Regions from separate parts of the Homo sapiens genome. Here all the other regions are linked to region 1. Evidence: promoter capture Hi-C in 16 types of primary human blood cells and fetal thymus (Javierre and others, 2016). All regions are on one chromosome and are shown on one strand. Each heading gives the region's core, a stretch centred on a gene start or on the middle of the fragment in contact. The rest is flanking DNA. Distances are from core to core; before and after follow the strand shown. Region 1 holds the start of TSPYL2 (TSPY like 2). Region 2 holds the start of WAS (WASP actin nucleation promoting factor). Region 3 overlaps OTUD5 (OTU deubiquitinase 5). Region 4 has its middle 9.7 kb from the start of UBQLN2. Region 5 holds the start of CLCN5 (chloride voltage-gated channel 5).

Region 1 (5,305 bases), core at 599-3,098:
CGTTATTGTATGTATGGGTGTTGAAGGTCCATGTCCACATGATGTGTGAATGGCTCTGATGGCTTGTGGTCAAGTTATGCCATGTGTCTACATGCTGAGGACCTGTGGTCACATAATACTGTGTCTAGGAGCTGAGGTCCTATGTCTAAATGATATTGTATGCCTGGGTGCTAAGGGCCTCTTACCATGTGCTGTTTCATATGAGGGCTAAGGGTCTGTATCCACATAATTCTATTAGGATGTTCGACTCATGTTCCTAACATGTTACATGTATGTGTATGTGTCTACTCTCCCCTTTCCTTCATTTAACTCCTTTTTCTCTATACCTAGACACTCCCTCTCTTGATCTTTCAGGGGCTCCAGCCCCCCTCCCTCCAATGCAAGGCACTCCAGCCAGGATTGGGGTCTCCTAGTATCTTAAGCAAAAATCTAGGTTTACAGAGCCTTGTATGGCTCAAGCACCCTTTCTGGGCAGTTTCTCTGCTGTGTGCCATTCCCCTCCCTCTTCAAGGTCTCTGAGTCAGTTCATCTTCTACGTGCCCCTCCCCTCCTCCTTTCACCATCTCTGGTCCAATTTTTTTGCTGTGTGCCCCTTTACTACCCTCCCCCTTTTTATCATCTGTGATCCTTTTTTTAATGCTATGTTCCTCCTCTTCCCCCTTTCCCATCTGTGGTCCAGTTTTTATGTCCGCCCCCCCTCCACCACCCTTCATCATCTCCAGTCCAGCTTCTCTGCTGTTTTGCCCTCCTCCTTCCATCCCTCTTCCACCCAGTCTAGTCCGTCTTCCGATAGGGGGATCATGCCCACCTCTGGCTCTCCTCCACCCGCTTTACCTTTTCTGTCCCTCCCCCACCTTCCCCTTTCCTGTCACGGGCTTCTGACCTACGGAGTATCGATTAGAAGGATACTGCTTTGACCCAGAAGCCTGGGATATGCTGGATGATGAGGTCTCTGCGCTCCAGGAAGGGTCTTCGCATCTGGATGAACTTGCGCTTGAGACGCAGGAAGGCTTTGCCTGCCTTGATGTTCACTGCCTCCAGATCCAGCTGAATATCCTCCAGTGCCTGCAGGATGCTCTCCATCCTCTCGGCATTTCTCTCTCTGCTTTCCCTCTTCACCTTCCTCTGCTTCCTCCTCCGCCGCCGCCGCCGCCTCCTGCTGCTCCTCATACTCTCCCGCTCATCCTCATCCTCATCCTCCACTATGATGATCGCCTCTTCCTTGCTCTTCGGGTCAACTAACCTCTGGGGCGCCCACCCCACTGCGCTACAGGTTTCTAGGGCCCCCTCTCCACCAAAACTGCTCGACTGTACAACCTGAAAATCGATTTCCAGGCTCCCCCCCGAGGCCTCAGGAGTGGGGAGTGCTTCCAGGCTCTCCGTGGGCGGGGGCGCCTCCCCATACCCCGACTCGATGGTAGAATCCCAGCCGGGACACTCAGCACCGAGCGTGAAGTATGCGCGGATCCCCCCCTCCTCGAGAATGACATAGGGAGGCGGCGGGGGCAGCGCGGGGCCCAGTCCCACCCCCCTCATATCGGCCAGCACCTGTGCCGCCTCCGTTTCCTCCTGGAGCCTCGGGCGCTGCTGGGGTGGAGGCAGCGGCAGTCGGAGGAGCGGCGGCGGCGGCGGCGGCGGGGGCGGGTCGCGCTGTGGAGACTCGGAGCTGCTCAGGCGGCGGGTCTTGGCCGGAGGCCCCTCATCTGGGCGGTCCATGGCGACCGCGTTCGTACAGCTCAGGGGACTCGCACTCGCCCCTTCGCTTTTAGCCGCGTCGCTGCCGCTAGTCGCACCGGTAAGCAGAGCTGAGGAGACTCACGCAACCAGCTCTCCTCACCACCTCGCTCTGGCGTTCCCTCCCACAGCGCCCGCTCTACTCCCTCCGCGCCAATCGCCGAAGCCCCGCCCACTCCTGACGCAGGGGTCCGCTCGGCCTGGCCATTGGCTGCCGGCCGCCGCGGCGGCGATCGCGCTCCCGCGACCCCTGCCCGCTCTCACGCAATCCGCTTGCCAACACCACACATCATCAGTTTCCGATTGGCTCCCCTCGGGCCCGCCAATCAACGGGCTGACTCCCTCAGCGACGGGAGGGAAACTGCAGGGCGATTGGCTGCGAGGAAAGCTGGGGAAGAAGCCCCTCTCCCTCACCCTCTCAGCGTTTTATCCAATGGGAAAAGTACCAGTGGTTCTGAAGACCAAAAAACGAGACGAAAAACAAACGCAGGCGCTGAGCAGGATGTGCTCACATGAAATTGGAAGAGCCTCGTTATCGTTCCCCCCGCCCCCCTCCCCTCAGCAACTACGCACTTTTAAAATCTGCCCCTTCCCCCATTTCCTTCAGCTCCTTCCCCCACCCCCGCTTCTGCCCCTTCCCCCATCCCGGGTCCTGCCCCTTCCCCCATCCCAGCTCCTGCCCCTTCTCCCACCCCCGCTTCTGCCCCTTCTCCCATCCCCCACTGCTGCCCCTTTTTCCATCCCCGCTTCTGCCCCTTCCTCCACTCCCCGTTTCTGTCCCTTCCCCCACCCCCCGTTTCTGCCCCTTCCCCCATCCCCCGCTTCGGCCCCTTCCCCCACCCCACCCCCGCTTCTGCCCCTTCACCCCCCGCTTCTGCCCCTTCCTCCCCCGCTTCTGCCCCTTCCCTCACCCCCCCTTCTGCCCCTTCCCGCATTCCCTGCTTCTGACCCCCATCCCCCAACTGTCTCTTCCCTCACCCCCACTTCTGCCCCTTCCCCTATCCCCCAACTTCTGCCCCTTCCTTCACCCCCCAACCCCACTTCTGCCCCTTCCCTCACCCTCCCGCCCTCCGCTTCTGCCCTTCCCCTATCCCCCAACTTCTGCCCCTTCCCTCACACAACCCCTGCCCCCCGCCCCCCCGCTTCTGCCTCTTTTCCTACCTTCCACTTCTGCCCCTTCCCCCACCCCCCACGTTTGCCCCCTGGGTGAACTCTGCTGTAGCTCCTCGGGGGCTCGGGCTGCCCTACCGCCTGCGCCTGCAATTTAGGCACCCAGGGTGTTTGGTTTGGGGGCCAGGTTTTGACGTGGCGTTTTCCATCTCCGCAAAATGGCTCTACAAATAATAATCACACACACAAAAAAGTAACTTCCTCTGCGTCATAAAAATGATTGTGATTCAGCTCATCTGCTAGAATTTTCTAGCACTTTCTGTCTCTTCATTTCTCCCCCTTTCCATCCTTTCCTCTCCCTTTCCCCAGTGTATGCTGTATTTTAAGATTTTTCTTTTTAAACCAGAGATGGATGGTCTTTTGTGAGGCATGGTGGTGGAGGGCTGGCTTTGGTGCTGGGATTCACATCATGGGTGTGCCCCTCATTTTGTAACCTTAACCAAATCACTGCCCCTCTCTGAGCTTCAGTTTTCTCTCCCCTAAATTAGGCATCCCTCAAGAGAGGTGTAGGTAACTGCCCATTGCAGCCTTGTCGCGGAGCAGAGAGGAGACCTAGGGATCCATCATCAGGGGAGTGGATAAGAAAAATGTGATATATGTTTTAGATGGACCACTAGAATGAATTAGATCTATATACGGCAACATGGCTGGATCTCTCAAAGACAGAATGTTGAGTGAAAAAAGAAACAACAAGATTTATAGTACAATACTGTTTATGTAAATTAAAACACACAGCAATACCATACATTTTTCACAGATACACATATATGTAAATAAACACATGAACGGTGGATTGGAAGGACGTACGTTAAATACACGAGAGTGGGTGCCTGTGTAGGGGGCGGGGAGGATGGGATCAGGAATGGGTGATGAAGGGGACAAAACTGAAGAAAAAAAAATAAAAGGGCCTCACATGGACCAATGATGATATAGTGTGCCAAGAACTGAGGAGTATGGTCAACTCAATTCTGTGCACCTGAGAGAATAACCAGATAGTAAATTAACTGTCTAGGGAGCAGGCTGGCTGGGTAGACTCCTGGGCTTGGGTTTTTTTTCCCCATGACATCCCTCCCTCTAAATTTGGTCAAAGCTGACCAAAGTCCCAGCTGCATACAGTGGCCCCTAGGAAGGGCTCCCATCCCAGACTGAGCAGTCCCTCCAGAAGCCATTACTTTGTGGGGGGCATTTCCTAACCTCATCAGTTTCCCTCACATTTGATCCTCAATTCCCAGTCCCCATTCTCCATGGTGGTCCAATTTTAGGAACACCTTGTTTGAGTTTGGGAAGGAGACTGAGACGGGGTTGAGATGGGGCTACAGGCTTTGTGAGGAGATGAGGTTTTCAAGTTCCCTGGCGGCCCCAGCCCTCCCGTGCTCAGGGCCTGGGCCAAGGGAGGCCCATCTTGTGAGATGGGAGTCTACCCTCTTGCTACCGACCTATGTAGTTTCCAAGATCCATCTCTTGACCACTCGACTTCCTACCACGGGCACATACTCTAGTTTGTCTCCTCTCAACTGTGGTGTGTGTGTGTGTGTGTGTATGCATGCACGTGCTGTATCTGTCCCCATATACAGGCATTTTACGTGTGTGCACCGGGCAAGTTTTCTTCAGGAGTGCCTCCCCACACAAAGTCACACAGACACACACTATCACTCAATCATGTCTCTCCACATGTGGTCAGACAGGGCACATGCACGCACGCACGCACACACACACACACAGTCAGAAAGAGAAAACATCCAGTATAGCATTGTTCATTTCAGTTTTTCCATTTACAAAATCCAATGGTGAATCCAGGCAGTTAGAAAAAAGAAATGGAGGAAAACCCTCCTAAATGTACCCTATCTACCCCCCACCCCCTTGGTCTTCCCACCCCACCCCCTCGGAAAGGCACCCCCATCACTATCGCTGAGAGAACAGGCTCCCCTACTCCCAGCCTCTCAGCCACTCTGGCCTGCCTTTCCAGGGCCACTCTGCAGCCAGGCTCATTAATGTCTCTCCTGCCTAGAGTGCCCTCCCCATTCTGTATGGGTCAGGCTTCCCCAGTTCTGGGGCTCTCTTGGGCTAGGGAGGGAGTTTAGGACAGGGACTTCTATAAAGAAGGGAAAGGGGGATGGATAAATACAGATTCCGGCCCCACAGGAAGTGAGAGGGGGACAGAGAGCCTGGGTAAGACCAGGGCAAGGAGTGCCAGCTTGGCTCACCAATCCACAGAACAGGCCTCAAAGTAAGCCCAGAGTGGACTCCACCCCTGGGAGGAGGCTTGGATCTCCCTCCTGGAGAATCTGACTGCAGTGTGCTCCACTTTGGGTGTAGGTAAGGGTGGGGGAAGGATGGGGAAGGAGGGTTGTTGGGAAAGAAGGATGCTTGGGGCTCAGGGCCCAGTCAGCCAAGGGCTACT
Region 2 (5,305 bases), core at 259-2,758, 4.4 Mb after region 1:
TGGGGGCTTGAATTTCATAATTTAGGACTCTAGTCTTAGGAAGTTGAGGCTCATTCACAGATTCAATCCATGCCCTCCCCCACCACCCCAGCCCCAATTCATGACAGGTAGGATTCTAGTATTTGGGGGTTGGAGTTGAGATTTGAAGTTCAGACACATAGACTTGGGAGTTTCGCGGGGAGTCCAGCTAAAGTAAGTGCAATTTGGGGTTTGTGGAGAGAGTTATGGTTTAGGAGTTTGGTGGATATTTGATAGCCTTGGGATCTGGAAGTTATGCTGGGTCCATCTTTATGGGTTTAAAAGGATGAATTTGGGGCTTAAACCTAGAAAGTTCAGGTCAGGGGATTGTGGAAAAGACTTTTTGCTTAAGAACTACCTCGGTATTTGAGTGTTCAGGAATTTTAATATGGGAACTCTGGGGTCTGTGCTGTGGATTTAGAAGGACAGATTTGGAGTTCAAGGATCAATGGAATATTCAACTTTGGGGTTTGTTGAACAGATTTATGACTTAGGAGCTTGGCAAACATCTGGGGTTCAGGAGTTTTGATGAGAGATTCCTGGGATGCAAAATGTTGAGTTTAGAATAGATTTGAGGTTCAGGTACAAATACAGTGCTCATTTATTGGAATTTGTGGAAAAGATTAGGCTTAGGCAGCAGACTAATACTGGGGGCTTTAGAGATCTTGATACGGAGACTGGGGCCAGTCATTGCAGACTTAGAAAGGCAAGTCAGAGTTTGCCATCTGGATGAGTCTTTGGTTCTGGGGCTCAGGGATTCACTGATCAGGTCTGAGGTCTTGAAGCTATGGACACATATGGACACAGATCTGGGTTTGCGGGTTGAGAACTGGCTTGCAAGTCCAGTCGGGGGTGGGGGGGTCACCTGAAGGCCGTAAAGGCGGATGAAGTAGGACTTCTGGGGGTTATCCTTCACGAAGCACACAGCCCCACAATGCTCCTTGGTCCAGTGCTCAGCTCCAGGGGGCAGCGCCAGGTACAGCTGAACAACTGCAGTGGCCAGCGTCTGGGAGAGGAAAGCAGGGGTCAGTGGAGTCTGGTCAGGGGTAGCCACAAGGTCTTGGAGCCAGACCTGGTCCTTCCTGCCTCATGACAGTCATGGGCCCAAAGGAAGAGCTGCAGCCAGAGGGAAGGCAAGTAGACATTGAGATCTTCCTGGGAAGGGTGGATTATGACGGGAAATTCTAGGAGAGGAGATGATGGAGAGGGAAAGGAGGAGCGGGAGGAGGGGAAGAGAGAGAAGGAGGAGAGGAAGAGGAAGAAACGGTGGGGACGGGGCGGGGGCAGGAGATCCCCAGCTCACCAAGCATTTTCGTCCAAGCATCTCAAAGAGTCGCTGGTTCTCGTGGTCCTGGAGGAGGGTGGAGGGTATGTTCTGCTGAACCGCTGGTGCTCCTCGGCCCCCGGGCCTTCCTCCCATTGGGCCCCCACTCATGGTGCTTTCTGCCCTTGTCTTCTCTGGCGAGGCTCTGGGTGCAGGGTAAGAAGAGGAACTTCCGCAATGAGCAGCAAGGGAACAGGAAATGCAAAAAACCACAAGGGACAAGGGAAACAAGTCCTCCAGGGGCCCCTTGGTGGGCCTGGCCTCCTCGTTAGGCTGAGCTTGGGCCCTCCGCCATCAGATTGGAACCCTCCTCCACTTGACTGCTTAGACCCACCTTTTGGATCAGCTTGGGTCCTCCTCCCCCTTTCTTACTCTCTGGGGCCCATCTCCTTCTGACTGGCTCAGACCCTCCTCCCTCTGGCTGGCAGCGAGAGCTTAGCACATCTGTGTGCAGGGCTCCCTGTGGCAAGGAGTAGTCATGGGCCTGGGTGGCCTCCTTTCTAAAGCACCTAGGTAGCCTGAGGCTGAGGCCCGAGGTCCCTAGTCCGGAAGGGTTACTACAGTAAAACTTTTCCTTTTGGCTGGGGACAATAGCTCACACCTGTAATCCCAGCACTTTGGGAGGCCGAGACGAGTGGATCACTTGAGGTCAGGAGTTCAAGACGAGCCTGGGCAACATGGCAAAACCCCATTTCCACTAAAAAATACAAAAATTAGCCAGGCATGGTGGCACACACCTGTAGTCCTAGCTGCTCAGGAGGCTGAGGCAGGAGAATCGCTTGAACCCAGGAGGCGGAGGTTGCAGTGAGCTGAGACTGCACCACTGCACTCCAGCCTGGATGATGACAGAGCAAGACCCTTGTCTCAAAAACAGCAACAACAACAACACAACAAAAACCCTTTTCCTTTTAATTACAGAGCGAGCCCCTGTGATCCACGCCTATCGTGAGTGCTTAGACACTGCCAATGACGCATATGCCTCTGGTCCACTTCCCCATCCCTTACCCTTGCCTCCCCGCAGCTCCCAAATTACTTTCTGCTTGTCATACTTTTTTTTTTCTTTTTTTTTTTGAGATGGAGTCTCACTCTGTCGCCAGGCTGGAGTGCGGTGGCACGATCTCGGCTCACTGCAACCTTTGCCTCCCGGGTTCAAGTGACTCTCCTGCCTCAGCCTCCCAAGTAGCTGGGACTACAGGCACACGCCACCACGCCCAGCTAATTTTTTTGTATTTTTAGTAGAGACAGGGTTTCACCATGTTGGCCAGGATGGTCTCGATTTCTCGACCTCGTGATCCACCTGCCTCGGCCTCCCAAAGTATTAGAATTACAGGCGTGAGCCACCGTGCCCAGCCCATCCCTTTTTTAAAGAAAGGAACTTTATATCATATATGAATGCCTGAACAACATCTTGTTTAGTTTTCATTGCACTTGAAGTTTGTAAAAGCACATAATCTTCAAAGGCTTGCTTTCTCCCCACTGGACATCCTAGTTTTATCTTAACACTCACATAGCACTTAACGTGTGTGCCAGTCACTGTTCTGACCCCTTTGCCCGGAGTGCGAGCCAGGCAGGCCAGGTGTGAGTGCATGGTCTCGTCCCTCCACGCCTTCACTCTTGGCTGTTGCTGTGATTCCTGTTTGCCTATAGTGGTAGCTGTTCATTTATTTCCACTGCCATACAGCATTCCATGGTGTGCATGTGCAGCCTGGGTGTCCATATTCTCCTGTAACAGCCCTTTGGGCTGCTTCTGGTTCTTGCTGTTGGGAGCAACACTGCAGTGTTCACTCCCGCACACATCTCCTGGTCCACATAGGCATGCAGACTCTCAGACGGGAATCTGAGGGCTGTAGGGTTTGCATGTCTCTAACTTCTCCAGATGATGCCAGACTATTTCCACAAGTGAATGCTAGCTCAGTCCCCGGCCTCCCCAGGCCTCAGTTTCCCCATGTATGAGGTAGGCCATTTGGAGACTTGAAGCTCTCAGATACAGGAACAGCAGTTTGGGGGAGCTGAGCAGGTCTGGGGTGTGACTGACATTCCCAGGTACCTGAAGGAGGAACGGCACATCTCCAGTTGGGACCTGCAGTCCTTCCTGGAAACTTCCATGGCTTCCCACACGTGCAGGTTCAAAGCCTCTCTCCTGAACCTAGGTTCAGAACCCCTTCTGCAGTGGCAGTTCCAACCTCCCTCCCGTGTCCCCACTCACAGCTAAGCTTCGGGCCTGGAGCACCTCCAACCTGCTGATCAGGGCAAGCCCCGATGTGGCCTTCAAGGCCATTGCACGTGTTCATTGTGACACTGCTCACTGAGCAGTCAGTGTGTGCTAGGCGTATCTCCAGCATTTGGACAGATGACACTAAATGGGTATTGAAGCATTGAATGAAGGTTCAGTAATGATATCCAATTTGATTCAGTGGTTCCAGAGGCTTTTCTAAGTGCTTTCCATTTATTAACTCATTTCACATTCACAGATGACCCCACAAAGTAAGCACTACTGGCCGGGTGCGGTGGCTTACGCCTGTAATCCCAGCACTTTGGGAGGCCGAGGCAGCCAGATCACGAGGTCAGGAGTTCGAGACCAGCCTGACCAACATGATGAAACCCCGTCTCTACTAAAAATACAAAAATTACCCTGGTGTGGTGGTGCACACCTGTAATCCCAGCTACTCAGGAGGCTGAGGCAGGAGAATCACTTGAACCTGGGAGGCGGAGGTTGCAGTGAGCCGAGATCGTGCCATTGCACTTCAGCCTGGGTGACAAGAGCAAGACTCCATCTCAAAAAAAAACACAAAAAACGTAAGCACTACTGTTACCCCATTGTACTGACTGGGAAGCTGAGGCCCAGAGGAGCTTGGGTGCCTTGCCCGAGGTCACACAGCTTGTGAGTGGTGGAGCTGAGGAAAATTATGAGAGAAATTGTTGTTCCCAAGCTGTGAGGTGCCACATGGAGGCCAAGATAAAATTCTTCTGCTCCTTTGTGTCTTTTATTCTCCACCTTTCTACTTCTTTCTCGGCCTCCAGAACTGTCCCCTTGAATAGGGGATGCTAAGCCTCTGATATATTTGCTGGTTGTTGGTGTTGTTGTTGTTGTTTTTAATGTGAAAGCAAGTTTATTAAGAAAGTAAAGGAATAAAGAATGGCTACTCCATAGGCAGAGCAGCAGCTTGGGCTGCTGGACTAAGGATACTTACAGTTATTTCTTAATTATATGCTAAACAAGGGGTGGATTATTCATGAGTTTTCCAGGAAAGGGGTGGGCAATTCCGGGAACTGAAGGTTCTTCCCCTTTTTAGACCATGTGGGGTGACTTCTTGATGTTGCCATGGCACTGTCATGGCGCTGGTGGAAGTGTCTCTTAGCATGCTAGTGCATCATAATTAGTGTATAATGAGCAGTTAGGAAGACCAGAGGTTACTTTCATTGCTGTCTTGGTTTTGGTGGCTTTTAGCCAGCTTCTTTACTGCAACCTGTTTTATCAGCAAGATCTTTGTGACCTGTATCTTGTGCTGACCTCCTATCTCATCCTGTGACTTAGAATGCCTAACCTCCTGGGAGTAGCCCAGGAGCAGCCCAGTAGGTCTCAGCCTTATTTTACCCAGCCCCTATTCAAGATAGAATCACTCTGGTTCAAACGCCTCTGACATATTTGCCCTTCCCTTTTACAAGGAAACCCTTAATCCTAACGGTTTAGAGGGAGGAAGATTCATCTTCTGTAACTTCTTCAGGAGGAATAGGGGCGATGATATTCCTGCCTATTAGGGTCTCTTGTATTCAGGGTAGAAGGGAGCTCAGTCATAACTGAGCCACTCATAACTGAGCTCCAACAAAAGGTGTTGTCCATCCCTCTTGTTTCTTCTGAGGAGCCGTCACAGGTCACTGATTGGTTCACAGGAATAAGCAGGGTCAGTCCAAAGTTGGCCAATCAGTGCTGCAGTCTTTTTCCTTTGGGTCGAGGGTCTCCTC
Region 3 (5,305 bases), core at 1,163-3,662, 4.2 Mb after region 1:
CTCAGATCTCCTAATTTTTTATTTATTTATTTTTGAGACAGAGTCTCACTGTCGCCCAGGCTGGAGTGCAGTGGTGCGATGATCTCAACTCACCGCAGCCTCTACCTCCTGGGTTCAAGCAATTCTCGTGCCTCAGCCTCCCGAGTAGCTGGAATTACAGGCATGCACTACCACACCTGGCTAATTTTTGTATTTTTAGTAGAGACGGGGTTTCATCATGTTGCCCAGGCTGGTCTCGAACTCCTGACTTCAGGTGATCTGCCTGCCTCGGCCTCCCAAAGTGCTGGGATTACAGGCATGAGCCACCGCGCTGGCCATAGATCTCCTAATTTTTATTTTATTTTATTTTATTTATTTATTTATTTTTTGAGACAGAGTCTTGCTCTGTCACCCAGGCTGGAGTACAGTGGTGCGATCTCGGCTCACTGCAACCTCAGCCTCCGTGGTTCAAGTGATTCTCTTGCCTCTGCCTCCCGAGTAGCTGGGATTACAGGCACGCGCCACCACGCCCAGCTAATTTTTTTGATTTTTAGTAGAGACAGGTTTCACCATATTGGCCAGGCTGGTCTCGAACTCCTGACCTCAGGAGATCCACCCACCTTGGCCTCCCAAAGTGCTGGAATTACAGGCATGAGCCACCGTGCCCAGCCTTCCTAATTTTTTTTTAAATAGCATATATTAAGGTCCACTCTTTGTGTTGTACATTCTATGGGTTTTGACAAATGTGTAATGTTATGTATCTACTATTACAGTATTATTCAGAATAGTTTGACCACCCTTAAAATTCCTCATACTCCATATGCTTACCCCTCCCTTCCTCCCTCTTCCTGCAAACACTATTGTCTTTGTGGGTTGCCTTTTTCAGAATGTCATATAATTGTAATCATACAGTATGTAGCCTTTTCATACTGTTTTTTTTTTTTTTTTTTGAGACAGTGTATCACTGTTGCCCAGGCTGGAGTGCAGTGGCACAATATCACTGCAGCCTTTACCTCCTGGGTTTAAGCAATCCTCCCACCTCAGCCTCCCAAGTAGCTGGGACCACAGGCACACACCACCATGCCTGGCTAACTTTAAAAATATTTTTATTTTGTAGAGACAGGATCTCACTGTGTTGCTCAGGCCAATCTCAAATTCCTGGGGACAAGTGATCCTCCCGCCTTGGCCTCTCAAAGTGCTGGTATTGCAGGGGTGAGCCACCTGCAGCCAATTTGCTTTTTTCCCCCCTGAAATTAAAATGGTCAATGTGACAGACTGCTTCTTTTCACTTAGCAGTATGCATTAAGGTTTCTCCATGTTCTTTCATGGCTTGTTAGCTGGTTTCTTTCTTATCACTTAATGTTCCTTTTATGGAGGTACCAGTTTAATTATTCACCTATTAAAAGACATTCTTGGTTGCTTCCAGTTTTTGATGATTATGAATAAAGCTTCTGTAATGTGCATGCAGGTTTTTTTGTGGACGTAATTTTTTAGATCAGTTGTATACATACCTGGGAGCAAGATTGCTGGATTGCGTTGTAAGATTATGTTTTGATTTATGAGGAACTGAGAAACTGTCTTCCCAAGTGGCTGTATTATTTGCATGCCCACCATAATGATTTGGAAGTTCCTGTTGTCAGCATTACCAGCAATTGATACTGTCATTGTGTTGGATTTTAGCCATTCTCTTAGGTGTGTAGTGGTATCTCATTATTTTAACTTGCAGTTGCCTATTGGCAAATGCTGTTGAGCATCTTTTCATATGCTTATTTGCCATCTGTATAGCTTCTTTGGTGAATTGTGTTTGTGACTTCCTGACATACAATTCCTAAAATCCTTAGAATCTGCAAAGTGTTGCCTTTTTGTATGCTAATGAGGTGACTGATGGCTGGCAGCCTCTAGGTAGCTTCAGGATGGGGGCTGGTGACCTGAAAGACCAAGGCAGGATTAGAGGTTTGCAACTTTAAGCCCATCCCCCAGCCTTTGGGGAGGGGAGAGAGGCTGAAGATTAGGTTGATCACTAGTGTCCAATGGCATAATCAATAATGCCTGCATAATGAAGCTTCCAAAGAATCCCAAAAGGATTGGGTTCTGGGAGCTTTTGGGTAGCTGAATACATGGAAGTTTCTAGAGGGTGGCACCCCAGGGAGGGCATGGAAGCTCCACGTCCCTTCCCCCATATCTCACTCTGTGCATCTCATCTGTATCCTTTGTAATTTTCTCTATAATAAACTGGCAGACGTGTTTCCTGGGTTTTGTGAGCTGCTCTAGCAAGTTAGTTGAACCCCCAAAAAAGTATTGTGGGAATCCCAATTTATAGCTGGTCAGTCAGAAATTCTGGAGGCCCAGACTTTCGACTGGTGTTCGAAGGGGGTTGGGGGGAGTCTTGTGGGACTGAGCCCTCAACCTGTGGGATCCCAGGCTGTCTCTGGGTATTGAATTGCATTGGAGGATGGACACCAGGTGTCCGCTGCTTGCTGTGTGGGAAAACACCCTCCCCCCAGCCCGCACACTTGGTCACAGAAGTCTCCTGTGTTGATTGTTGTTGAGTGAGAGTAGAAAAAACACTTGGAGTGTGTTTAACACTGCCAGAGTGGTTAGATTTTTTGACTATTTTTTTAATTGGCTTGTTCTAACATAGTTTTACGAATTGTTTTTAACTATTCACAGTAAAAAATTACATTTTATCTGAATGCAAGGTCTGCAGGAAAAAGAAAAGAATACATTTTACATGATTACTTAGCATATATGCATTTGTGTGTGATGTGTATATGTGCATTAAAATAATGTTAACTAAAGCTTCATGAAACAACATTTGCACTTATTCCCTGGGATATATTCTGATATTTTCTATTTTTTAAAAATGCTGTTGGATCTCAGCCTGAAAAACAGTACTCTGATGTAGTGTCCTGTAACTCATAGCACCCCACACCATGTTGATACTGCCCCCTTATTCCCTCACACACCCACTACTTCCCCCAACCCCTCACATGCTTGAATACTCCCTCCACCCGGTGCACACATAGCTAATTTTTGTATGTGTCTCATCTGCTCATGTGTGTGAAAGTCCTCAACATTATGAAACAGTCATCACTGGATGGGGCTTCTTTAAATTAAGGCCCAGGGCCAGGTGCAGTGGCTCACACCTATAATCCCAGCACTTTGGGAGGCCGAGTCGGGTGGATCACCTGAGGTCAGGAGTTCAAGGCCAGCCTGGCCAACATGGTGAAACCCCATTTCTACTAAAAATACAAAAAAGTTAGCCGGGGGTGGTGGCACTCACCTGTAATCCCAGCTACTTGGGAGGCTGAGGCTGGAGAATCCCTTGAACCTGGGAGGCGGAGGTTGCAGTGAGCCGAGATTACCCCACTGCACTCCAGCCTGGGCGACAGAGCGATACTTCGTCTCAGAAAAAAAAAAAAAAATAAGTCCCAGGTTGGAAGGCACCTGACTGCTCCAGTCTCAGTGCCTCAGTTGAGGTGGTTTGGGGGTTAGAGTCAGGTCTTACAAGCATAGGAGTTTGGAATGACAGGTCCCACATCCCAAGCCTGCTTTCCCTTGGTCCCCAATCAAGAGGTAGTCTGTGGAGTGTTGCTCTTTGGGAGTACCTGCTTTCCTGTCTCCTTTTTTTTCTGGGGCCTGTGGGCCTACCTCGCTGAGCCTGTTCTGGCTCTTGGGCAGGTTCAGTGTGTTATTGCACATCCCTGTTCCTCTCCCTCCTTGCAGTTTGCAGAGCAGTCTCTGATGAAGAATGCCATAAAAACATCGGAGGAGTCATGGATTGAACAGCAGATGCTAGAAGACAAGAAACGGGCCACAGACTGGGAGGCCACAAATGAAGCCATCGAGGAGCAGGTGGCTCGGGAATCCTACCTGCAGTGGTTGCGGGATCAGGAGAAACAGGCTCGCCAGGTCCGAGGCCCCAGCCAGGTGGGTCATGGACTCTGTCACAGGCTTGGCCAAAAACTCATTACTTCTCATGCTTTGCCCTCAAGCGAGCAGAAAAAAATTAAGCAGTTTTGACATCTGGGAGGGAAGGAAGCATCCAGCACCATCTGTAACTCATCTTGGTCTTAGTTTTGGCATTGTACCTTGGAACTTTAAATACTTGTGCAGAACAGGCACTTAAGGAGTGAGAGGAGGGCAGCCATGCTGCTGGTGACACGAGAATAATGGATAGCTTCAGAGACACAAGCTTTTGTTGACTGCCCTTGTGTGCCAGGTCTCTACTGAGAATGTAACATCAGATCTGGACTACTCTGCCCTCAACGATCTCGTCTGTTGGCAGAGACAACTCAATGGTGGGGTCCTTGACCCTGACTGGGAGATCAGTGGAGGTGGGGGCTCCGGTTAGTCTTCACAGAGGAAGGTTGAATTGTTAGGGGAGCGGGGAGGGGCGGGGCAGACAAGCATCTGAGGAATTGTAAAATCGCAAGGAGTTTGGAGTGATTGTAGATGTTGGCTGGCAGGAGCTGAGTTTTTTTTTTTTTTTTTTTTTGGAGACAGAGTCTTGCTCTGTCGCCCAGGCTGGAGTGCAGTGGCGCAGTCTCGGCTCACTGCAAGCTCCGCCTCCCAGGTTGATGCCATTCTCCTGCCTCAGCCTGCGGAGTAACTAGGACTACAGGCGCCCACCACCACGCCTGGCTAATTTTTTGTATTTTTAGTAGAGACGGGGTTTCACCGTGTTAGCCAGGATGGTCTCCATCTCCTGACCTCGTGATCCGACCACCTCGGCCTCCCAAAGTGCTGGGATTACAGGCGTGAGCCACCGCACCCGGCTGAAGGAGCTGAGTTTTATTCCACAAATACCTACTACCAGTCTGTGGCAGGCCCTGTTTTCAGTATATGGGGATACATAGGTGAGCCCAGCAGACCAAGATCCCCGTCCTTGTGATGTTCACAGTTTTGCAGAGTGAAATAAAATAATAAATATAATGAATAAATTAGTTGGGAAGTGCTATGGATGGAAAGTGTAGAGCCAGGATAAAGGGGCTGAGCAGGAATGTGCGTTCACGGTATGAAATAGCGCAGTCAGGGTAGGCCTCAGAGCAGGTGAGATTTGAGCCTTGCAGAAGGTGAGAGTTAGCTGAGCGCACATGGAGGGGAGGACAGCAGGCCCACACACCTGGTACAACTCAGGCACAGCCCAGAGGGAGGCCGGTGTATCCGAACAGAATGTAGTAGTAGATGAAGTCAGAGAGGTTGTGGGTCCAATTGGGTAGGGGCTTGTGGGCTGTGGCGAGGACTTTGGCATTTACTCTCAGAGAGGCAGAAACCATGGGAGGATTGTGAGCAGAGGACGGACAGGATGTGGTTGGGGATTTAA
Region 4 (5,305 bases), core at 839-3,338, 3.5 Mb before region 1:
TCTAGTTTTATCAAAACCAATAATATATTTATGCTTTTGATAAATTTTGTACTAACAATAATTATAATGATAATACAAAACAATTTTTTTCAATAAGTTGTTTTATTTCTTTGGGGTTTTTCAACATGTTTATTATTTTAATTGACATAATTTTATATATTATGAGGAGCAGTGTAATGTTTTGATACATGTATATCATGTATAATGATCAAATCAGGGTAATTAGCATATCCATCCCCTCAAACAGGTATCAGTTCTTTGTGTTGAAAACATTCAAAATCTTCTCTTCAAGCTATTTGAAAATACAAAATAAATTATTGTTAGCTATGATCACCCTACAGTACTATGGAATACTAAATCTTATTCCTCCTGTCTTCCTGTAATTTTGTATCCCTTAACCAACTTCTCCTTATCTTCCCCTCTTTTCTACCCTTCTTAGCCTCTAATAACCTCTATTCTACTCTCTACTTTCATTAGATCAACGGTTTTAGCTTCCACATGTGAGTGAGAACACACAGTATTTATCTTTAATACAGAACAGTTTTATCCTTTAAAATTAATTTAGTTTGTATAATTTTTGTGGTAGAGAAGCATGAATAGGGTGATCAATGAAAGGCTTTTTAACATAAAATATATAAAATTAGGACAAAAATTCTGTGGAGAAAACAAATAGAGATATTAAAGAAAAATATTAAATATCTTCTATTTATAAAATAAATAGAAATATTAAAGAAAAAATGTACAACATAAATTTTTCAACTGTTAAAGAAGAATCTGTTATTATATTTTAAAGATGCATGAGGCAGATCTCAAGTTGCTATAGTATTTAGGGTCTGCTGGATACATTTAAGAGGCTGACGTGTTAAAAGAAAACTTTGGAAAATTAAACAGAGTTTAATTAAGCAAGAAAAAAAAATTCACAAATTGGGCAGCCTCCAGAATCACAGCAGATTCAAACAGATTCCTGGGAAGCCTTGTGGTCAGAATAAATTTATAGACAAAACAAGGAAAGTGATGTACAGAAATCGGAGGTGAGGTACAGAAACAGCTGGATTGGTTACAGGTTGGTGTTTGCATTATTTGAACAGAGTGTGAACACTCAGCAGTGTATGAGTGGTTGAAGTATGGCTGCTGGAATTGGCCAAGACTCAGCTATTGTTACAGGCACACACTCCTAATTTAGGTTTTCAATCTTGTCTACCTATTAAGTTAGGTTAGAAATGGTCTACAAAGACTCAAATATAGAAGTACAGAGCCCTTCTCAGGCCATATTTAGTTCGCTTTAATGGACGTAACAGTTTATTTCAAAATGTCAATATTCATAATATCCCAGAAATTGTATTCTTGCAATTATTTAAATATACGGTGACAAACTTTAGATGTCAACTTCAGTATGTCTCAACAGTTATTTAAGTGTTGCCTTGCTGGCTTTTGTTATGTTTTGCAGGTCCAAAGGTCTCACTTTTACCAGCTGCCAGAATAGTGCAGGCCCTGAGTTACTGACTCACACAAATGAAACAGCAGATGAGACTGAGATAGACGGGAGAATGCCAATTTATTATTTTCCAGTGAGAAACAGGACTGTGATGCCTACCTAAACTACTTATGTGTATGCATCCAGCACATTTCCCTTCTCAAAGCTTAAATAGGAAGCCAAATAAAAATCAGAACTAGAAAATTAGAGCTACTTGATTGCCCTTTGAATGTAAATTATAAGCCTACGTCATTAATCAGAGCAGACACAAGCAAAATCATCTGAAAGACATATGATGGGATATAGCAGGATGGTTGTTGGGTAAACCATGATTCATAAGATCATAAACTAACAGTTTAATGACATAAATCAAAGCTAGTGCTGTGCATTCATCTCCCAACAGAGATGATATTGATTATAGGGTTGAAAATACTGGAAGTCAAGTGGCTAAGGCACCTGTATCCATTGGTTGCTGCCAATCCTTACTTCAGGGACCAACTTTTCCCTATGCCTTTGTGGTTCATTCTTTCTTAAGATGCTAATACAGTCAGCCAGGTCACAGTATACTTATACTTTAAGGGCCCAAAATTCATTTTGTCTCCTCAGATAATTTTACATCTGTGTTCCTTGATTAGTGATGTGCTGATCCTACAACATAATCCTCAAAATACACTCAAATAGCTCTCATTTTCTAGTTCTTGAGGTGGGGTGTAGTTGAAAGGTAACTTATAGTCCCTTACTGACAATGTTGCTCGGAAAGAGCAACATTAGTCAAATAAGCAAGTACAGTTTATTTTCAGTTAGAATTAATAACTTAGTAATACATTGTTATGGGAGAAGTTTATAGGGTCATGATACCAGATGGAATACATAGTTACACGTTCACAACATGTAGGTGAAAGTTTAGTGTGTAGTGTAATAATCACTCAAAATACACAGAAATAATCAAGGAGAGAATAGCTGGTAAAACATAACTTGGAAAGAAAGTGACAGGAAATATATCTGACTGGATGGAGAAAAACTAGAAATAACCAAAAAGAGAAGATAGGAAAAATAAGCTTCTGTGAAGAAATGCAGCCAGAGGACATTAGCCAAGGAAAGAACTATACTGCATGATGATGACATAGGCAGAAAAGGATAGAGAGTGAATAACAAGAGTCATGAAACAGAAGATGAGACAAAGAATATTTGAATGGTAGTACAATTTTAAATGGGTTTCTAAATGAAATCCAAATCCTCTTCAGAAGAAAAATAGTGCAGAGCATGGGGCATAATCTGAGGAGAATAAGAATTCCAGACTGAGAGGATTTAGGATAGCTTTAGGATTCCGAGAAAAGAGGCAATGGGAACTTTCCTGACATAGAAAAACCAGGTTAAATACAAATAGGTTACAAAATTTTGTAGCAAGTTTTGGACTGGGGTAACTTCCTATCAGTCATTAGGCAAAAATAACAACTCAATTTTTGTTTGTTGTTGGATTATTAAAATTTTCTGTTGATTTTGCTCAACAGATAAAAAATTAGAATGGAAAGCATAGAAATGAGTGATTTTGATGTGTATAAATTTTTGAATAATGTATAGATTTTCTGAACAATATGCCTCAAAAAATGAAGCAGCCATCGAACCAGAAAAGCTAAGTTAGACATATGAATACAGGGAATTAGTTAATTCATCTGAACACAGAGAAAGCCAAGTTACTTTTGAATAGAAACTTTAATTATGTCTCAGAATAAAAGAATAAGTGCAATAAATGAGAGAAGGCCCTTGGCAAAGTGGACAAGCATATTGGTAGTAGGTCAAAGAGAGTACTTTAGGTACTTCAGGTCAAGAAGAGAAATTCTCCCTAGAGCCTGAACTTTGTAGGTATGAATATGTTCTGTGGAAAAATCACCTTTTACAATTTTCTCTGGAAATTAGGTAAGTAACAATTGTGCAGATGACATTGAGTGGATTCAAAATCTTAGGATTTTCCAGTAGCTGTGCTTCCAGGATTTTAAAAACATTGTGTATTACTTCTTAGAAGACATTTATAATTGTCCATGTAGGGACGTGAAGAATTGTCTGGTCAAGGCAATTGTTCAGTGGAAACAGCAAAGTGATGAGAATAATTATGGAAATAATTATGATGCTTTGGTGATCTTTAGCTAAGGGGTAGCAATTAAATCATTGCATTCTTACAAGTAGATACTAATTATTCTTATTTGATAAATGAGAAAAATAAGGTGCAGAGCTGTTAAGTCATTGCTCAAGGTCACATATCTAGTATGTGGCAAAGCTAGGATTCAAACCTAGTCAGTTTGAATGAAATGAGTAAGGATATATATGTTTGTGACTATTGATTAGAATTGCAGTAGTCCAATAATAGGAGCACTGACTTGAAGAATATGTGAATTCATATCTAGCCATGTAGTTAAATTAAAATGAATAATTTTAAAGTAAATTTATTGAGGTATAGCATATAGACAGAAAACACACAAATCATGCGTGTTGAGCTCTATGAGCACATTTGTGTGACCAGCAGCCAGATGAAGAAACAGAATATTCCTTGCATCCTTCATACTCCTTACCAGTGCCAAAACCCTCTACTAAGATTATCACCATTCTAGTTTCTAGCACACAAAAATTAGTTGTACCTGTTTTTGGACTTTATGTGCATGGAATCAGTTAGTATATATTACCTAGAGTCTGGCATTTTTTGCTCAACTTTATATTTGTAAGATTCATCTCTGTTGTTCTGTGTAGCAGTACTTCATGCATTCTCATTGATGAAAAAGAAATACGTTTAAAGTTTCTTCTTAAAAAAAATCACACAGTTAACCTCTTTCTTCTGAACTATACATGTTCTCCAAAATTGCAGGACAATTTAAGTAATCAGTAAATTAGATGAAGAGCATTGATATGATTTTGATCTCTGTCCCACCAAATCTCATGTTGAATTGTAATTCTCAATATTGGAGGTGAGGCCTGGTGGGAGGTGATTGGGTCACAGGGGCAGAGTTCTCATGAATGGTTCAGCACTATCCCCCTTGGTACTGTCCTTGCAATAGTGAGTGATTTCTTGTGAGATCTAGTCCTTTAAAAGTGTGTAGCATGCCCCCCTTTCTTGCTCTTGGCTCTTGCCATGTAAGACAACTGCTCCCTCTTTGCTTTCCACCATGATTGGAAGCTTCCTGAGGCCTTCCTAAAACCAGAAGCCATTATGCTTCCTGTATAGCTTGCAGAACCATGAGCCAATTAAACCTCTTTTCTTTATAAATTACCCAGTCTCAGGCATTTCTTTATAGCAATGTGAGAATGGCCTATACAAGCATAGCACTAAAAAGCCAGTTTTGAAATCAGTTAAATCCTAGTCAACCTGGAATTTAAACACAGCTTCTTCATAAACTGACTCTATAGTCTTCAACTATCAATTTAATGCCTCTGTGCTTCAGTTTCTTCAAATGAAAAAATGGTGATGGTATTATCTATATCTCAGGATTGTGTGAAGGTAGGATGAGATGCTATATGTAAAGCACCTGATACAGAGCCTAGACCATTGTAGGTTATCACTAAATTGGTAGTAGTTGTTGTTGTAATTATTATAGATAAGGCCCAAATGCTGAAGCCATTATCGAGGCTGACCAGTTTGATAGTAAAAACAATCTATTTTCAAAAATATATGTTGAGCTATTAGTATGTTATGTATAGATTGTGGAGTTTCTGCACTTTATATGTTCTATATGGCCAGAATTCTCTCATTTCTCTGAGGTGCTCAGAACTCCATGGGGGTCCATGAACATAAAAGAAAGTTCTCTGTGATAATTTCATCTTTGTGTCTTTTCATTGTGATAG
Region 5 (5,305 bases), core at 1,016-3,515, 3.2 Mb after region 1:
GGAGACTGAAGAGCAACATTAATATCCAGTGCCCTAACCAACCCCCAAAATACCCAACTTTACATTTAAAAATCAGTAGAAGGAGAGGAAAGTTTATGAATAAAGTTTGGAAACAGATCTTGTATAGGGGAAAAAAAAGGAAGCGGAATAAAAAGTGAAGAGTGATGATACCCTTTGAGTAGTAGTTCTCTCTCCTTGTGTCATTATACTTTCCCACCCTTTGCAAATTTCCTATAGTGAGCGTATATTGCTTTTATAATCAGGGGGAAAATGAACCAAAGAAGAAGAAAAATGTAAAAATGGAATACCAGTTTAAAGAAAACCAAATTAATTCAGCTAATTCCTGTTGTTAAAACTTCAAATCCAGTCCTAGGACAATATTTGCAAAGATATTAAAGGAGTTAGGGGCCGGGTGCGGTGTAATCCCAGCACTTTGGGAGGCCGAAGCAGGCGGATCACCTGAGGTCAGTTCGAGACCAGCCTGGCCAACATGGTGAAACCCCGTCTCTACTAAAAATACAAAAATTAGCCAGGTATGGCGGTGCACTATAATTACAAGTGACGCCTGTAATCCCAGCTACTCGGAAGGCTGAGGCAGGAGAATCGCTTGAACCCGGGAGGGAGGCGGAGGTTGCAGTGAGCCAAGATTGTGCCACTGCACTCCAGCCTGGGCGACAGAACGAGAGCCGGCTCAAACCAAAAAAAAAAAAAAAAATAGGAGCTAGGAATGGGAGAAAAAATGAGAGGTCTGACGACTTAGTTTGACTTAGAGGCTTAACACTCTGCTTGCCCATTTAAACAAGATCTCAGTTAATAAACTGGTCTTCCCTACTTAGCATACAAGCCAATCTGTTTTTTCTAAAAGTCTTCACCTTTTTGACCTGGTGAACATCAAAGTAGATTGTTATTTCCATATCTTTTATACAACCAACACCTCCACCTCCTAAGTGAAAGTGCTAAAGCACAAACACTGAAGGCTAATACTAGCTTGAGAATCGTGTTGGCCTTCTTTAATGACAAAAGGGTTAATGTGTACACCAGTCCCAAAACACCAACAGAGAAAAGACAGTGCTTTGGACAAGGAAAAGTTCGCGAAGTCCAAGAAAACTAGGAACTCACAAACTCCTAGGGTGAATTCAGCAGGAAAAAGCGCTCCGATGACTTCTCTGAGACCTGGGACAGTCTGTTTTGATTTGCCTTTTTTCTTCTCCTATTTCGCGTGCAGTTAAGAAGTAATGATCATCGTCCCGTGGGACTAGGCGAAATTTAACATCCCTGAAGTTAAACCCGAGCAGTTGCTAATAAATGTATGAAGTTTATGTAAAGTTGATTCGTGCTGGTTTTTTATGCTCCAAACTTCTAGATTTCCCTCACTTACTCGGGGCAGCTTCCACTGACGTTATCGCACGGGCACAGGTACAACTTCACTGGGAACTCCAGGCAACTGATTTGCTCTGAAATGTTAATCAAAGGAAACGTGCGTCAATGTAAAGGCAAAGCTTTTCCCGTGTGGATCAAGGCGCTCAAGAGCAAGGCTCGAAAGTCTGGAGAGAACCAGCTACGCGCGTTAAGTGGCAAAAGGAAAACAGCGCAGCAACTACTTTTCCGAGAGTTTCTCCACTTTGCTAAGACCCATACAAAACCAGCGGCAAGTCCAGAGCCGGAGGGAGAAGAGCCGGGCCTCGGCTGAGCTTTGCCAGCCTAAGTCACCCTACCCCAGTCCGGGAAAGGGGACGCAGGCGGCTAAACACTCCGATTCAAAAGCGGGGCGGGCTTGGCGCCGCTCCGCAAGGAAACTTCGCTCGGGCAACCCAGGGACCATAACTCGGAGAACAGGGCTGGGCTCCCGGGAAGACGCCGCTCAGCACTGGCTGGAACTAGCCTGTCTACCTCCTCTAAGCGCCGGGCTGCCAACGCCGGGCGCGGGGAAGCCCCATCTCCGGGGGTCCAAGCCAGCGGGATTGCGCTTCCCCTGTGTCGCTGCGCTTAGGGGGTGCTCCGGGGGTGGGCCGGGGGCCAGCGGCCCGCCAAGGACCTGTTGGGGAAGGGACAGCCCGTTTGCCTTTACCTGTCGCCGAGGTCCGGAGCGGCGGAGCCCGTGTCCGCCGCCGGTGGGCAGCGCGCTCGGTCGGCTCTGGCGTCCAGGACACCAAGTTGAGTGAGCGCCCCACGTAGCCGGCAGAGCTTCATTCACACAGCCCAGCCGGGGAGGAGGGGGAGCGAAGCGGGCGCGCGGCTCATGTGACAGGGCGCCTCGCGAGTATCGGCTCAGCCCAGCCAGCGTCTGCGCGTGCGCGCCACGCCGAGCTCACACCCGGCACCTCTACCCAGCCGAGATGAGGGGAGGCCCGCCGGGGAGGAGCTGCCAGGAGGAGTTTCAACTTGCGCAGCCGCAGTACGTCGGCCCCGCTCGCTGCCATATTTAATGAGGACTGGGCGGGCGGGTCCTATCCCAGTGCTGGGCGTGTCAGTTGCCTTTGAAAACGCAATGCCCCATTGTGTTTCACTATTTCCAGCTTGCAGTGCCTTTTTTTGCTGGGGAGAAGGTTTGTCCTTAGAATGAAACTGTCTATCCTGAGCTTTCGGCCCACAGAGTAATTAGTAGTAGAAATCTAATACTAATAACATTAGATCACATAATTTGAGCTGCTTCTTATGTGCCAGGCACTCTCCTAACCCCTTTACTTTTTTCGTCTCATTTGGTGTTCACAATAACCCCGAGGGTTATTTCTCCATTTTTACTCATAAAAATACACAGGCACAGAAAGGTTAAGTAACTTGTCTAAACTCATATAATAGTAGGAATAGGAATAGTGATCAAACGTAGTGATACTTTTAACAGCCAACTTGATGTTTCCAGCAACGCTGCAAAAACTATACTGCAGTTGTTAGTACTGTATTATCTCCATATTAATCATTACAAAACAGAGGCTCAGAAAAGCTGAAGTCACAGGACTAGTACGTGGTAGAACTGGGAATCCAACCTAGGTCTAACTTACTCCAAAGCCCTTACCCTAGGTTTGAAAGAAACAGCACACCGTTTTGCAGAAGAGAAAACTTAGGCCAAATGGGGTGCACTGACTCACTTAAGATGATCCAGCTAATTAGTTCTTGGCAGACCTGAGACTGGAATCCATATAATCCAAGTAATCTAACTAGAACCAGGGTACTCTACTGCAGTGAACAATTTGGAATGCCTACTTTGGACAAGCTAAGTGGTCAGGGATTTAAAAACCCCTATCCTAGCCCAATCAGCATAAGGCTACCGGGGACAAATTTGTAATCCGACATAGTCAGGCTTTGACCCATTGCAATATGAGAGACTGCACACGGTAGGCATTTCATCAAACAGAAAAACATGGAGTCATTATAGGATTGGAGAGAAGAGTGGAGTTTAGGTGAATTTTAAACAAAGCAGTGTTTTTGGTAAGCTCAAAGCAAAGCAGTACTGTCATTTGGGGTCACCATCAGGTCTGAACTGCAAAGTGAACCCAGAGTTGTGTTTCCTTGGGAACCACAAAATAAAGATAGATGTGGAATGTTGTGTCCAGATACCCCTTATCTGAAGCTCTGCACCTGGGTTGGAAATTGAGGCTGCTTCTCTGTGTCAAAGAAACTTATGTCCTCCAGATGCATGTGGGATGTTTCATTCTTACTGATACGATTTCAAGCAGAAAAGTTTCTGATAATCTACGATTTTAGAGAACAAAGTCTCTCAGTGAATAAAAAAGTGGTGGTCACTGAAATAAAAACATCGTTACCACTTTACAGCTGCAATATGTCCGCCAAAGAAATATTGTTCTCTGTTAAATTTGCATCTGGTTTTATCTGTGTGTTATTCCGGCCTGATGAATGGCCGGATTTTTATTTTTTCAGTCCAAAATTTTTTTGCTTTCTGAGCTGGTAACATTCAGTCCCTTCCTTCAGGCACTCATGGTGTATGGGATAGCCACAAATAACTAGAAAATATCAGTACAGGCCTCTAATAAAGGTAAATCCAAGTGGAGGTAACACCGTTGGCAAAGGTGAGCAGGCAGGAAGTTATATGTGAGGACCCGTGAGTAGTCCTATGTGGTTGAAGTTTAGGGTAAGGAAGTACAGGGGAATTGTGGAAGATAATACCCAGAAGGTAAATTGGGGCCCAATTTTGGAGCATCCTGAATATTGGACTAAGATTTATACCTAATTCAAAAAGTGACTGAGAAAGAATTGAGGTTTCTGAGCAAGGCAATCCTCTTTTGGAATTCATCTTTTAAAAGGTGAATCTAGAGTAATTGTTCAAGGAAAGGTTTGATTGTTTGCTTGATTTTTTTTTTTGTCATTGAAGTAGAAGAAACTGGAGCTTATATGTAGGTCGAGCAGAAAAACTACTGGTGAAATCAATAATAAAGAGGCAAGAGGCCGGGTGCAGTGGCTCACGCCTGTAATCCCAGCACTTTGGGAGGCCAAGGCAGGTGGATCACTTGAGGTCAGGAGTTCGAGACCAGCCTGGCCAACATGATGAAACCCCATCTCTACTAAAAATACATGGCTAGGCATGGTGGCTGGCGCCTGTAATCCCAGCTACTCAGGAGGCTGAGGCAGGAGAATAACTTGAACCCAGGAGGCAGAATTTGCAGTGAGCCGAGATCGCACCACGGCACTCCAGCCTGGGAAACAAGAGCGAAACTCTGTCTCACATACACACACAAAAGAGTCAAGAAAAGGAGGGGATAACTAATGGAGTAAAATAATTGAGAGGCGAGAAATGAGATTCAAAACACAAACTAACCTCGGACACCTCTTCCTCTGATACAGGAAAAAACGGTTTGAAGGATGGCAGTCTGGTTGGAAGGAGACATGTCACGAAACTGCCTCTGCAGAGCAAACATATTGGCTTTACTTAAAGTACATACAGGTTTATTTGGGAGAGCTGGGGAGCGAGTAGGAGGGGTTGGGAGGGAGCAAGGAATTGGGGGGAATTGGGAGTTATAAAAGGGCTGCAGTACACCCAGTTTACCACTTGGTGTCGCCACTGACCGATGACAGCTTGGAGGGCTCCAGTTGGGGGACGAAATCTCCCCCTCCCCCCAAAAAATGTGCATTTCAAAAAAAGAACATTTTATCTTTTGCGAATTGCAAAACAAAACAGAGTGAGCTCCAGAGCCAGACTGCCTGGGCTCAAAGCCAACCATACTCAGACGCTTACTAGCTGTGTCACCTTGTTCAAGTTATCTAACTTCACTGTTTCGGGTTTCTTACCTATAAAATGGGATAATAGGAGTAAATGTATTAACAGGTGTAGAACAGTTAGAACAGATTAAGC

What was found. Contacts are between HindIII fragments. The CHiCAGO score rates a contact against its expected background, and 5 or more counts as called.
Region 2: a contact is called between the fragment with the promoter of WAS here and the fragment with the promoter of TSPYL2 in region 1, in 1 of 17 cell types (monocytes). The highest score is 5.6, in monocytes.
Region 3: a fragment that was not itself captured here is called in contact with the fragment with the promoter of TSPYL2 in region 1 in 1 of 17 cell types (monocytes); the score reaches 5.0 in monocytes.
Region 4: a contact is called between a fragment that was not itself captured here and the fragment with the promoter of TSPYL2 in region 1, in 1 of 17 cell types (monocytes). The highest score is 5.5, in monocytes.
Region 5: the fragment with the promoter of CLCN5 here is called in contact with the fragment with the promoter of TSPYL2 in region 1 in 1 of 17 cell types (neutrophils); the score reaches 7.0 in neutrophils.

Annotation. Positions count from the first base shown.
Region 1 is chrX:53,078,910-53,084,214 of GRCh38, reverse strand. It overlaps TSPYL2 (TSPY like 2), which reads right to left and starts at 1,848. Exons shown (of 7, transcript NM_022117.4): 1 at 910-1,848. The coding sequence starts at 1,716. It overlaps GPR173 (G protein-coupled receptor 173), which reads right to left. Exons shown (of 2, transcript NM_018969.6): 2 at 3,600-5,305. RefSeq lists silencers at 1,474-1,523, 1,554-1,603, 1,874-1,983. The HindIII fragment of the contact is 18,116 bases long and covers 1-5,305 here.
Region 2 is chrX:48,680,002-48,685,306 of GRCh38, reverse strand. It overlaps WAS (WASP actin nucleation promoting factor), which reads right to left and starts at 1,508. Exons shown (of 12, transcript NM_000377.3): 1 at 1,322-1,508; 2 at 884-1,024. The coding sequence starts at 1,453. The HindIII fragment of the contact is 18,512 bases long and covers 1-3,557 here.
Region 3 is chrX:48,924,451-48,929,755 of GRCh38, reverse strand. OTUD5 (OTU deubiquitinase 5) reads left to right here. Exons shown (of 9, transcript NM_001136157.2): 6 at 3,706-3,909. Among named protein-coding and RNA genes, the nearest start is that of PIM2, 8.1 kb to the right of the region's middle. RefSeq lists enhancers at 1,661-2,299, 5,239-5,305. The HindIII fragment of the contact is 737 bases long and covers 2,044-2,780 here.
Region 4 is chrX:56,551,241-56,556,545 of GRCh38, reverse strand. No RefSeq gene overlaps it. Among named protein-coding and RNA genes, the nearest start is that of UBQLN2, 9.7 kb to the left of the region's middle. The HindIII fragment of the contact is 892 bases long and covers 1,643-2,534 here.
Region 5 is chrX:49,919,556-49,924,860 of GRCh38, reverse strand. It overlaps CLCN5 (chloride voltage-gated channel 5), which reads right to left and starts at 2,265. Exons shown (of 15, transcript NM_001127898.4): 1 at 2,069-2,265; 2 at 1,379-1,454. RefSeq lists a silencer at 1,954-2,003. The HindIII fragment of the contact is 4,286 bases long and covers 1,502-5,305 here.